Linked DNA regions of Homo sapiens: all the other regions are linked to region 5. Evidence: promoter capture Hi-C in 16 types of primary human blood cells and fetal thymus (Javierre and others, 2016). All regions are on one chromosome and are shown on one strand. Each heading gives the region's core, a stretch centred on a gene start or on the middle of the fragment in contact. The rest is flanking DNA. Distances are from core to core; before and after follow the strand shown.

Evidence for each region. The method cuts DNA at HindIII sites, captures the fragments that hold promoters and counts their contacts. A CHiCAGO score of 5 or more calls a contact.
Region 1: the fragment with the promoter of C7 here is called in contact with the fragment with the promoter of DAB2 in region 5 in 1 of 17 cell types (total B cells); the score reaches 5.9 in total B cells.
Region 2: a fragment that was not itself captured here is called in contact with the fragment with the promoter of DAB2 in region 5 in 1 of 17 cell types (M0 macrophages); the score reaches 5.5 in M0 macrophages.
Region 3: a contact is called between a fragment that was not itself captured here and the fragment with the promoter of DAB2 in region 5, in 2 of 17 cell types (M1 macrophages and megakaryocytes). The highest score is 6.8, in M1 macrophages.
Region 4: a fragment that was not itself captured here is called in contact with the fragment with the promoter of DAB2 in region 5 in 1 of 17 cell types (M1 macrophages); the score reaches 5.8 in M1 macrophages.

The regions. Positions count from the first base shown.
Region 1 is chr5:40,908,210-40,910,909 of GRCh38, reverse strand. It overlaps C7 (complement C7), which reads right to left and starts at 1,413. Exons shown (of 18, transcript NM_000587.4): 1 at 1,294-1,413. The coding sequence starts at 1,299. The HindIII fragment of the contact is 6,323 bases long and covers 1-2,700 here.
Region 2 is chr5:40,842,100-40,844,799 of GRCh38, reverse strand. It overlaps CARD6 (caspase recruitment domain family member 6), which reads right to left. Exons shown (of 3, transcript NM_032587.4): 2 at 1,091-1,648. Among named protein-coding and RNA genes, the nearest start is that of CARD6, 2.1 kb to the right of the region's middle. The HindIII fragment of the contact is 687 bases long and covers 1,040-1,726 here.
Region 3 is chr5:40,734,340-40,737,039 of GRCh38, reverse strand. All of the region lies in intron 2 of TTC33 (tetratricopeptide repeat domain 33), which reads left to right. It also overlaps a transcript of PTGER4 not described here. Among named protein-coding and RNA genes, the nearest start is that of TTC33, 20 kb to the left of the region's middle. The HindIII fragment of the contact is 470 bases long and covers 1,062-1,531 here.
Region 4 is chr5:40,571,797-40,574,496 of GRCh38, reverse strand. No RefSeq gene overlaps it. Among named protein-coding and RNA genes, the nearest start is that of PTGER4, 110 kb to the left of the region's middle. The HindIII fragment of the contact is 1,286 bases long and covers 793-2,078 here.
Region 5 is chr5:39,423,723-39,426,422 of GRCh38, reverse strand. DAB2 (DAB adaptor protein 2) reads left to right here and starts at 1,443. Exons shown (of 15, transcript NM_001343.4): 1 at 1,443-1,619. The HindIII fragment of the contact is 7,828 bases long and covers 1-2,581 here.

The DNA.
Region 1 (2,700 bases), core at 164-2,663, 1.5 Mb before region 5:
TAAAATAAAGTAAAAGATTAATAGTTAACACAAATATTAGGAAAAAACATTTTGGCTAGATAACTTTCAGAAGAGCATCATTTTCTTTTCTTGTTTTTTTTTTGTTTTTTTTTTTTTTGAGAGAGAGTCTCACCTTATTGCCCAGGCTGGAGTGCAGTGTCTAGTGTTGCCATCTTTATGCCCATGAGTACCCAATATTTAGCTCCCACTTAAAAATTAAGAACATGGGGTATTTGATTGTCTGTTCCTGCGTTAATTTTCTTAGGATAATGACCTCTATCTGCCTCCATGTTGCTGCAAAGGACATGATTTCATTCTTTTTTATGACTGCCCATCATAACTTTAAACAAATTAACTTTGTTATTTGTGTTTAATTTTAATTATTTAATTTCACAGAAGGCATGGCTTAATCAAGATCCATATCTTGCTCCTCCTCTAACCCCAATAATGAGCGAGCTTGGATTCGGTGCCCCAATGGACAATACAGTGACTATGGAAGCAATCTAGCCACTGACAGATCTGTGAAATTATTCCTACAGTCTTACAATGCAACATTTTTAAAGTTTAAATACCAAAATTTACAATAATAAAATTTGAATAGCAATCTCAACTTATTTTTGCATTCCAGAGATTTAGTCTATGATAGCGATTTCTATCTTTGGTCTTATCTTTTGTTGAATAGCTTTTTGGTTGTGTTTTGTTTTGTTTTTTAATATTTGGCCTTTTTGCATTGGGCCAACATGTATACTTGGTAGACCTTTAGTTTTATTCCATCTACTCATATCTTCTATTCTCACAATGCTGACTCTTTCATCCAGGATTTCAAATTCTCAAGTTCCAAGCCTGCAAATTTGCTTTTCTATTAGCTCTTAGATAAATCGCAGGACCCTACTGCATGGCTCCTAATCCAAACAAGCAAAAAAAAAAAAAAAAAATACACCAGAGGAAAGTTTTTCCCAAGAAATAACAATAGTACTATTGTATTTCTTTATGACTTTATCGGGACTTTCATAAACATTGTCTCCAATTCCTGATTCCCAGACCTCTGGACCTATAATTTCACCACAAGATAAGAAAAAGGAATTCACTTTGGCTGAACTGTTAAATATGTTTAAATAAGGATTTCTAAACATCACCCCCAGGTCTTTTTCTTCTGTATTTTCCTCTGGCCTTCTATTTATTTGATGTCTTTCAGTTAGGTATTACACCTCTTCGTTTAAATTACATTTATATTACCCCCGTTCATTTGAAAAGATAGCTTCATTTACAAAAGTAATGAATTTATTGTCTTACCTTCATGTTTGGGAAAACATTCAGGGCAGAAGAGAGGAGGAAGATTTCCTCTGTAAGGGCCGGGTAAGTTTTCAACAGCAGGAAGAGCCCAGCAGGCTGCCTGCCTCTCTGCCTCTCCCTGCTCTAGATTATCTTGGCACTCATATATAGAGCAAGTGGTCCTGAGATTTAGCTCCTACCCCAACCGGATTCTCCAACGACAGCAAGAGCCTGACCTTGTACTTAATCTGTGCCTTGAAACCAGATGCATCTTATCAATTACACAGCCTTAGCTACAGCCAGCTGGGACTGTTTGGAAGTTATAGATATGTTTCTTAGAAACATATCTATAAATCAGGAAACACAGCAAATGTTCTCAGTTCAATGTTTAAGTGATTTTCAACCAAAGGAGACTCTGTAAGGCAAGGGATGAGCCTCCTTCTTGTTTCAATCTACTAAACTAAGTGGATGTTTTCATGATTCTCTTAAAAGGTGTTATATGCCAGACTTTGAGATTAAATATTTTATGAAAGAAAATATTTAAATGCAGTTCTGTCACTCAAAATCTAAATAGAATGTTCTGGAGTAGAATTTTTCCCCAAAGTACAGCCTAATACAACCCAATAGTCATCCCTTCATGCTTAACTTTCACAGAATAATCAGAAAGAATATCAATTTTTGTAAACATATTTGAGGACATCACTAATTTTCTCAAGAACTTCACTTAATCCTTTGATAATCAGATCACTGTGTTGGAAAGTTCTTCTCAGGGTCATTATCCACATCCATTTTCTCTCCTTTGCTTTTTATCTTGTCTTATTCTACCAGGTCTTTATTTTCCCATAGCTTTGCATTGATTCTAGCAAGTCCCCAACATCACCTTCATACATTTAATAAAATGCTGCTTATTTTGCAAGATTTTAGATTTCCTATTGAAACTGAGCTACAGTTGGCCAGGCGCGGTGGCTCATGCCTGTAATCCCAGCACTTTGGGAGGCCAAGGCGAGCGGACCAAGAGGTCAGGAGTTCGAGACCAGCCTGGACAATACAGTGAAACCCCGTCTCTACTAAAAACACAAAAAAATTAGCCAGGCATGGTAGCATGCACTTGTAGTCCCAGCTACTCAGGAGGCTGAGAGAGAAGAATCACTTGAACCCAGGAGGCGGAGGTTGCAGTGAGCTGAGATCGCACCACTGCACTCCAGCCTGGGAGACAGAGTGAGATTCCATCTCAAAAAAAAAAAAAAAAAAAAAATTGAGCTACAGTTTTATTTGTATTGTTGGACCAAATATTCTAACACTAGCTGCTAGTGCATTATGAGTGAGGTAGAATAAATGTTAAGCGGGAAAGAAAATTTGAGTTAAGAATAATTTTATAAGTAAACATTCCATTAGTGAAGATTTTCTAGCTTTAATGACTTTTTCTTC
Region 2 (2,700 bases), core at 134-2,633, 1.4 Mb before region 5:
AGAAATCTGTGTTTATTGTTTAAGCCACTGATTTTGTGGTATTTTGTTACAGCATCCCTCACAAACTGATACAAGGTGTGATGAGGAAGAAATGACTCTCTTCCTACCCATAAGTGGATTATGAGTCCCCAAGATTTGAAATTAATGTGAGATGGTAGCTACATTTTCATCCTCTACTCAGAACTTAGTGATGTCTGTTTTCCCAGGCAATATCACTCCAATGAAACACTTCTCATATTTTGAATTTTCATTAAGAAATATTCAGATTTGGCTAGGTGCAGTGGCTCACACCTGTAATCCCAGGATTTTGGGTGGCCAAGGTGGGCAGATCACTTGAGCCCAGGAGTTCGAGACCAGCCTGAGCAACATGGCAAAATCCCATCTTTACAAAATACAAAATTAGCCAGGCGTGGTGGCAGGCACCTGTAATGCTAGCTACTCAGGAGGCTGAGGTAGGAGGATCACCCGAGCCTGGGAGGTAGAGGCTGCGGTGAGTCATGATTGTGCCACTGCACTCCAGCCTGAGTGAGACCCTGTTTAAAAACAAATTTTTTTTAAATAAAGAAATATTCAGATTCAAGATACAAATATAATTCTCATCAAGATGGCATTATGTGGACTGGATCAAGCCAAGTAACAATATTTTGGGATCTTAGCCATTTACTGACTGTTTTCACTTAAATAGTCAAACCCATAATCCCCATATCTCTCTGGTCACAAAGGCACTAAAATAACTAAAGTGGTTTAACCTGAGAAATAGGTTAGCCTGAAATTAATGATTAGCAACTCCTCGTACGTATAATGGGAAATTAATGATTGGCAACTCCTTATACGAACTACAGAAATTTACAAACTGACAATCAATATTTACTTTTGCTTATGCTGTCCATCATTTCCTAGGTCCTGGGAGCTCCTTTAAGTCAACACCTACCTCGAGGAGATTCCAGGTCAGAGAGGCACGAGGAATTTCTTAGTAGTTGATTTTCTGCTGACATCTGTCCCTTTTTCATCCCCCATCCCCATTATGTCATGGCAAGCTTATTAACTTATTAAGTTGTTGCCTAACTAACTATACAAGATATTTCCATACCTTCTATACTTTTCTCCTGTTCCTCCTCCAATGAAAGGCTGGTTTCTGATCCCTCATAACTTGGTTCTTCACCAGAGAACTCTGTGGTTTCTGAATTCTCGAAGTCCTCTTCACCATCATATCCAACGTGCTCTGGGTCATCATAAACCTCCTCTTCCACAGTGGCTTCTGCATCTTCAGGGGTGTCAACAGATCCTAGATATTCCTCTTTTCCTAAGTATAAAGAATCATCTAGCTCCTCATATCTCTGTCCATCTTTTATATATGTAATAGTTGCTGGAACTTCACATCCAACTTTCTCAACTGAATATGATAATGTGACTTCTGGTGTGTCATATTCCTTCTCATTCTTCCTGGCAGACAAAGCTGTTTCCCTATAACTAGTTTTCTTGTCCCTGAAAAACTCAGAGGTTTCCAAATCCAAGTGTTCCTTCTCACTGAAGAACACTGTGATCTCAGGGGCTTCAGGCTGTTTTATTCCAGGAGAAAAAGCATCTTCTGAATTACTGCTTGCCCCCATAGATTGAGGAGGTACTGTATTCTCATGTTTTAAAACTTCTGCAAAGAAAAGAATTGTTTTTCCCAATTAAGAAAAAGAAGCTGTATAACAGCTAGAGTTCCTGAGGCCTCAAAGCTTCATCCCTCTCCTTTTATTTATTTATTTATTTTTTGAGACAGAGTTTCACTCTTGTTGCCGAGGCTGGAGTGCAATGGCACGATCTGGGCTCACTGCAACCTCAACCTCCCGGGTTCAGGTGATTCCCCTGCCTCAGTCTCCCAAGTAGCTGGGATTACAGGCATGCGCCATGATGCCCAGCTAATTTTTGTATTTTTAGTAGAGACAGTGTTTCACTATGTTGGTCAGGCTGGTCTCAAACTCCTGACCTCAGGTGATCCATCTGCCCCGGCCTCCCAAAGTGCTGGGATTACAGGTGTGAGCCACAGCGCCCAGCCACCTCTTATTTCACTGGAGGACAGGAATACCTAACACCTCCTATATAACTTGCATGTCAACATGTCAACTTTCAGAACTTTCTTTTTTCCACTAAAAAAAAAAATCAGATCACACCACTGTCTTGCTTAAAGTTTGAGTCCTTCCTAGCAACCTTACAGGGTAAGTGAATAAAACGAAAAATTTGAATCATATGAACAGTGTTTACTTGTGGACTTACTGTGACTCACAACAGACTCACGTCTCTTGGGGTCATTGCTAATGAAATCTGATCACAAATAATTTCTAATCAGTAAGCAAATGGCTCTATTTGGAATAGTGTGCTTTAGAAATAATAAAAGAAAAATTTCTAAGCATATAAATCTTGTCCTAAATTAGGTATCACTAACATTCACCTTTTTATCTGAGCCTCTACCTCTCTAACATCCCTTAAAATAATTTTGAATTTTTTTTTAGATTCCTAGAAAAAGAGCTAGACCTAGTCCTAGTAGTAATTTACAGAATTGCTAAATAACTGGAAGAATTGCTTTTTCATGGACTACTAGTTATCTTTGAACCATTTAAGAATTAGCACTGGAATTGCTCCAGAAAACAGCTGCTGCTGGCATTCTTATCACCAAAAAAATGAAACTACTGATTTGCCATCTATGTGTTAAAA
Region 3 (2,700 bases), core at 47-2,546, 1.3 Mb before region 5:
ACAGGCCTGAGCCACCATGCTCAACCTTGAGTGGCTTTTAAATTCAGAAGTCTTACCTTAGAGTATTCATGATTCTTTTTAACAAAAATCTGGTTTACTCTTCTACCCAACCCCCAAGAAATTTTGGTGCTTAATAGAGATGGTATAGTGAGTATAGTGGTTAAGAGTGTAGATTTTGAAGTCAGATTACCTCCATTCAAATCCCAACTTTATCATTTCTATCTGCATAAACTTTGGGTAGTTATTTTTTGTCAATTTCTACCTCATAGGTCAAATGGTGATACATATCTTATAGAATTTTGGAGGATTAAAGAGCAAAGTCCATGTAAAAGCATGCTACCTAGCACCTAATAAGCACCAAGTGAATGTACTTTAGATATAATATTTTAGGATTTTATATGTTCTTGGTATATTTCCTGTAGTAGTAATATATATTTTTGTAAATTATTTTGTTCAAGTGGCTTTTTCTAGAATTATTACAAACTAGGTTATACCTTCTCAAGAGTCACGGTGTTAGTCCCAACTTTGACATCTTGGCTTTTAAAGTTTCAGCCACTAGATGGTGATATTTGACTGTCTAGCTAACTGGTCTGATTTTTCTGTTAGAATCAGTTGTATGTGTATGAAGCAGGAATATAAATTAGAATTTACCATGCATTTTGTTCTTGTCTAGGAAAGTATACCTACTAATGTAAATTTGAGGGTGATCTTGCTGTGTGACCCACATTCTGCAGATTACTCACATCAGTATATTTAATGACAGTGGTTTTGCCTCATGCTCTGTGGAAAAACATAGATACAGTCAGTGTAGAATGACTTTATTTTCTCACCAGCACATCTTCCAACCTTACTGTATTTGTGCCTATATGATCTGTCATCATTCCATTGTAATTATCAAAGGCCCACCACTCCACTTGTACTCTAGACCCCATCCCCTTGTGCCTTCTCAGGAACGTTGTTCTGAAATTGTCCTCTCATTTTTATATAATCTGTTTCTTCTTTTCTCTCGGTCCTTCTTGCTGGCATGCAAACATACCCTGATAACATCCATTTAAAAAGCTTCTCTCCAAATGCTCTGCCATTTCTCTGCTCCCACTGCACTACAAACTCCATTTCTTGATGAACCATCCAGTCATATTTCTGTCCCCATGAATCCACTGAAACTGCTTTTGTAAAGGTTATCAGTGACCTCCATGTTGTCAAATCCAGTCATCACTTCTCTGTTGTCATTTATTGTGCTTCTCATCATTCAGCACAGGTGACCACAGTCTTCCTAAATACACTGCTCTCTCATCTTCCACACCACCATGCTATCATGCTTGTCCTTGTCTCCATGTCCTCTCCTTTTTAATCTTTGCTTGCTCCTTTCCTTTTGCTCTCCAGATCAACAATCATCTGTGTTTGTGGAGCTGTTGCCAGCTTAACATAGACCTTGTATTTATTCTTCTTTCTTCATGGCTTACTTCTGTTTTTCCCTCACTCTTGATTGCGTGGGATCCTATCCACTCAATAAAGATTTAGCCAGTAAGCTTTGGCCTCAGGCTCTGTTTTCCAGGTAACCCAAATTATCCTGGATTTCTTTCTTTTTTTCACTCATACCAAGTCCAAGTTGAGCCAACTGTACATTTTCAGTGTGTTGTAAATCTTTTTTCCTCTTTCTGTTTTCACTTCTATCCTTATCTAGGGTTATCTCATACCTAAATTACTTTGGTTGTCTCATATCTAGCCTTCCTGTGTACATTTTTGTACCCTTACTGTCTATTCTTCTGGGTCTGACTGATCTTTTAAAAATGTAAATCAATAATTCATGTCTCACTGTTGTATAAAAACTCTGTGGATTCTTCATCACACATACAATTAAATCCACATGCATAACTATGGCTTATTGTATTCTCTGTGATCATGGCTTCGGCCCACCTCCCTGACCTCTGACTTCCTTTCCTCTGGTTTTATTTCCTTTCCACAAAACATGGTTTGGTCCTGCCCCAGGTTCTTCCCTTTGCCTGGAATGGACCTTCTCCAGATTTTCAGTTGTCTGACCACGTTTTGTCACTCAGGTCTCAGCTTGAATGCGTTCCTAGGAAGACCTTTCTTGACCGCCCATTCCGAATAGCCACTTGGTCACTCCCTATCACATTCCTCCATTTGTCTTTTATCACGGCACTTATATTTTAACTGTTTGTTATCTTTCTTTCCCTGTCCCCTTCTAACATGCATACACTTTAGAAAGTAAGATCTGGAAGAATAGTAGGGACCTTTTATATCTTGTTGGGTGCTGCATCCTTAGTACTTATTACTAGAATTCTACCTGTCCCAGGGTAGGTGCCCAGTAAATATTTATAAAGTGAATAAGCTGTTAACTATATAGCTCATTAAATTTAAAGCCACAGTAAATTAGAAGTCTAATTGGGAGTAAAGTAGCTAAACACATTGACATTTCTATTTGGTAAATGAGTGTGCTATCTAACTTATTTAGCTTGATCACCAGCTGTTCTTTACCTCAGTATAGGGCATTATCTCATCCTGCCCTGTTGTAGTCCATGGAACTATTCCCTTTGCTTCCTTCCTTGTGCTACTTCAGTTGCATACTGTTAAGATTGTCCTTAAACTGGCGGAATCAGACTTTGGTCATTTATTAACCACAGTGACTTTAAACCAAGTTTTTATCTTTTAATGCTTCCTATCCAACAGCTGCAGTAG
Region 4 (2,700 bases), core at 186-2,685, 1.1 Mb before region 5:
TCTATTCCTATTTGCTGAAAAATCAGTAATCTAGGACCTAGAATATTTGCTCTTCTGAAAGTTTTATTAGAACATTGAGCAAACAGGTACTAGTTGAAATTCAATTTACTCAACATTATGAAGCACCTGCTGTGTGCTGTGCCGGTATATGAAGCTAGGTAAGCAGTGTCAATTTTTATAAACACCTCCCAGGCATATAGAAGTGAAGGCTGTTATAGGAGGGAGGGGCCTTAGAAACTGCATGGCTTGTTGGTGGTCACTCTGTGTGCTGTAGAACCTTTGGGTTCTGCCAAGGTGGCCATTTTGGGTACAAGGAAGAAATGGAGGAAACCAAAGGGGAGACTGAATACCAGAATACTGTTTCTATCCTGCCCTCTTCAACCAGGATGGCTCCAAACTTTTATTTATTAGCCATGCCGAGGTGTCGTTATTTTACAGAGGAAGACACTCAGGGGCAGTGTGTGTCTGGGGTCGATGACATGGTGAGCTAAGTAGTCACAAAAATTGTATACTTTCATTTGCCATACTAACGAGACACACAGTACTTTTCATGCTCCTCCTACTCTTCTTAGGAGTGAGTTTAGATTTTATTGTATTTTGGAGATCCTCAGCCATATGAGTCACATTGTCCTCAGATGTCCATGTTACAGATATAGACTAATGGCAAATATGGTGACTTTGGGACTATTAAAAAAATTGCGATCATCCAGGGTGATGTAAATTGCTTTCACCTTTATTGATTTTGTTGCCAGGTCTTAACAAACTCCTTTGGGTTTGTAATAACCCGAAGCTTTAACTTTACAGTAAAGAAATTTCATGGTTACACCCTTAGCAATGGGTTAAGAATTATCACATTCTCTCAACTCTGTGTCCTTTCATCCAACATTCTGACAAAGAGGAAAAGATTCTGGGTTAGGGAAAATCACTCTATTAATTCTAGCTATTTATACTCTAATACCGTAATTTTGTAATCTTTCTTGGACACAAGATCTTTCTTGTATTTAAAGAAAAGATAAATTTCATTTTTTTTTTTAGCATTCCAACTCATTCTGCTCTTGTCTGTTAAGATGATAGGAAGACATGGAGACTCAAGTAATTCCTAGCAAGTCAAAGACTAGAACTAGTTAGCCATTAATTATAAAAACTATTTTAGATTATTGACTGGAATGACTGAAATTTAATCTAGTTGAACTTCAGAGCCCAAAATATGGACTTTTCTGCCCTTGGACACAGGGACAGAGGCAGACTGGGACTTTAAGATTGGGAGGCCTCTGCTGATGTGGAGGAGAGAAGGGAAGCGACTAAATTCAATTAGGGACTAGTAGGAGCAAATCAAATCTGCAGCTGGAAGAGATCATCCAGCAGCTGCAGCTAGATCATCATAGTGACTGTAACCCAGACAAGAAAAACAGAACGTGGGAGGCCATCTGCTTGCAATTTCCTTATGCCAGTATTAAAACAATGTTAAGGCTTACTGACTTTTTTTTAATGAAGAGAAAAAAGTTTACCAAAGATGAATGATGAATTTTTTTTGTAAAAACAAAAAAAGTAAAAATGACTTCCATTGATAAAAATCCCAATTTCTAGATATTTAGATCATTTCTTTTTGTAAAAAAAGTTTGCTATGAAAAACAATACCGTGACAAGAATTCCTTTTCCTTATTTCTTATTGGGCACATCCCAAATTTTCTCTTAAGATAAAACCCTAGGATTTAAATTTCTAGAGTGAAGGGTGCATGTATAATTAAGGTTTTAAAATATGTAATCAACATATTTTACAAGCTGTTGCATTTTTCTATGAATTTCCTACCATTTGTTTGGAATTTACAGAAATAAAGGATACACTGTTGTTCCAGAGACTCGTGAAGTTAGATGGAACTCTCAGGGGCCAAATGGATAATTTCTACTGTGTTAGGTTTTCTGAACGTTGTCTCCTTGCCAGTTCCATAACCTCTTCTAACGTCAATACTCAGCCTCCGGTCTGCTGCTGTTTCTGCTTTGTTAATACCGGAGGCCACAGCTAAATGAACCATTGGGACGATCACATTCTCTCTTTTAAGAATTTAAACTAAGAAGCTTTAAGTCTAAGACACTTAGAGTATGATGCTAGACACACTTCCAGATATGGGAACTCTAATATCTTATAGAGTTGAGGCCAAGAAGGGTCATGTGGCAAACTATGATAAGTGGAAGTAGAAAACCCTTCTATGGGGGAAGCCATAAAGAAAGAAGCAGACACTGAAAATCAGGGACTATGTAGCCCTAGGGAAAATGTAAATGGTACAGTCCCTGTGAGTCCCATCGCTAGATTCTGTAGTGTGTCCTATGGGACCTTCTTGTGCCTTCTGAAGATCTGTGTTGATCTCCATCCAAGACTCTTGACTCCAGGTTAAATTACAAAGCTTTTACTTCAGGAATATCAGTCATTTGTATGGTAGATCTTAGGAAACACAGGGGTCCATAGGCCTTCAAAAACAGAGAACCATATTTTCTGAAATATAAATTAGGTCATATCTGACAAAAGATTACTTCCCATTTTGGTGCATTTACATGAAACATTACCACACTAGAATCATTGCCCTCAGGCCTGCTCTTAACTGCTTGGACATATGGGCTTTCATTCCCCTCGAGTTTGCTTTGATTTATCTAGTATAATGGTTCTCCAACTTTAGAGCGCATTAGAATTACCTGGGGGCTTGT
Region 5 (2,700 bases), core at 194-2,693:
TGAAAACTGCCAGCATGGCCCTCCCTGCCTCCACACCCCTAGGTGTGTCAGGGGATGAGAAATAGTAGAGGCTGGGGAAGTAGAATTCTGGGCCAGCTGTGCTGCTCTGCACCCCTCAGTCTCCCCGAACAACGGTTGTTTCAAGCCTGACCTACTTGAGAGCAGACATTGCCACTCACATTGAGCTACCCCAAATTACACAGTGGCTTTGCAGTCGAGGCTAGGCACGGACCACAAAATATATCCTTGATGTCCCACGAGCCCTATTTGAACCCTCAGTTTCCAGAGGTAAAATGCAAATCCACTGTGTTGCTTACTCGATAAAATCAATAACCCCCTCCCATCCGAGATACAATTTAGCATTTTCACATTTACTACGTGCTGCCTCTGACTTTAAACAATTAAATTTTTTTCTTAAAAAAAGGGAAAAGAGACACGTCTTTCACAAGAGTAATTTCAGAATTCTCCAAAAAGCAACAGAGCTTCTGTGGATGTTTTACAATAATTCTTGATTTTAAAATATGGAGAAAATGAATTCTCAGCTTGTTAACACTCATTAGGATTTGCTGCGGAGTACCTTCTACCGCTCAGCACTCTACGTTAACATTTTTAAATATTTTATTTCTTGCAGTTCATGTTTTTCCTAGAGTTATAGGAAGTGCTATGGAAATTCATGCAGATAAAGTCATGTTATGTGTCTACATATAGGTGTATATACACTGTAAGGGAAGCCTGTATAGAATCTCTGATTGTATCAGAATTATAACTTATTTGATAGGCTACATAGACGTGAACATGTTTTGCTCATATCGATTTCAGAGAGAATATTATTTTTATATCCATATATATGATTATATTTCATAGGTAAATACAGTATGTTTCACATATGCACACATAGATTTCCCACTAACTTAAGCGCATTTGCATCTGCAATGAGGGAGACACTAATTTCTTCTAAGGGGAGCAAATCCAATCGCGCGATCAACTTTAGAAACTGCAGATCTGCGCAGGAACCGTTGTCCCTTGTCAGAAAAGTCAGGAGTAAAGGCAGTCCTTTGTTCAAAGGGCCCCAACGGGTTGGTTAGGATGACTCCGTGTGCCACATCACTCGCAGTGGCAATCCAGGGAACGGATCTGTGAAACGAAGCTCGGTGGATCCCACCCCTTTCCTCCAGAGCTTCCCTTTCCTGTCCTTATTTGCACCCGCCCCCCGCCCGCGTCGGTCTGGGGCTTTTGACTTCTCCCCGAACACATTTCCCCTCCCGTCGCTGGGTCCCTGCGATCGCCCCCAGCTGGTGGGGCTCGCGGAGCTCAGGGGAGCGGGGTCCTCTGCGCCGCTGCAGCGCGAGTTAATAAACAGTTAAGTTTGGAAGACTCTGCAGACACGTTGAGGGGGAGTTACCAAGCCCAGGCAGCAAAAACATCCTGGCACATTCCTGGGGAGTCCTCAGCTGCCAGCATCTGATTAGAACCATATCTCTCGCCGGGAGTGGCCGCGCGGCTCCGAAGCTCCCGGCCGGCGGCTATTTAAGCGAGGCCCGCCGCATCCGCTGCGCTGTAGCCTGGAGGCTCCGGGCGCGGGGAAGTCATGCTCGCTTCACGGAGGCAATAGCTAGCCGGTGAGTAGCTTCGAAACCCTTCTTCCCTCTGGCTCCATTTTTTTTTTAAAGATCTCCTTCTCTCCTTTGCTCCCCCTCTCTCACCCCCCCGCCCCCCGCTACCCTTCTTTGAGTACAGACCTTGGGCTGTGGGGAATCTTAGAAATGAGACCCTGTGCTTGGGGAAACCAGCAGTTTTGTGGCCTGACATCTGAGGAATGCTTCCGCGGAATGTATTTACCTTTCGAATCCGACTCCAGATGCCCAGCTTGTGACATTTAACAAACGCCTCCTTTTGTGTCGTGTGTGTGTGTGTGTGTGTGTGTGTGTGTGTGTGTGTGTGTGTGTGTGTGTAAAAGGTCTGCGGGCAGCCCTCCTAGGACACTGAGGTGGCTGCTGACCGCCTAATTAACTCCTCGAAGGGTGTTTATTTTTGCTGTGTGACAAAGGCTGGGGACCTGGCTTGTGCCCATAAGGAGCTTTTTCCTGGTGACTGACAACATATGGCATTAAAATGTGAACTTTTGTCTTACACCGGCATTCCTAAGGAAGTATCTACCCAAGGGACTTAAGAAACTTGTTTTATATCCCCCGGCGCAGGGAGCATGGTTTATATGGTGCTTGCCTGCCTGTTGTAAGCTGGTTAAAAAGATTAAGTAAGAATTCTAAAAAAGGGGGGAAAAATGAATGGGTTAAAACCGTGGAGCCTCAGTCAACATAGCGGTTTTCATAGCATAGAGCTGACTCTGTTATTTGTTTCTGCTGTCTTTCCCTCTTGACTTAATTCTGAGCCTGGAATTCTGGTCCGCAGACAGTTTCAGCAGGGAGCTGAGTCCAAAGGGAAATTCAACTGGATTAAAAACACTTAAGGAATCTGGGTGTTATCTCCACCCCAACCACCCCCCACCTTTTCCCCTTTCTTTTTAGTTTTTGTTTGGAAGGAAGAGAGCCGCTCTGTAAACCGAGAAGAGCAGAAACAAGCTTCCAGACACATGGAAAGACTTAAAAATTATGGAGGGGCGACTTCACGAATAGTAAATGTTGCTATTGCTCTATAAAGTGACTTCATGAAAAAATTTCTGGCCTTAGTCAGGCAAAGCAG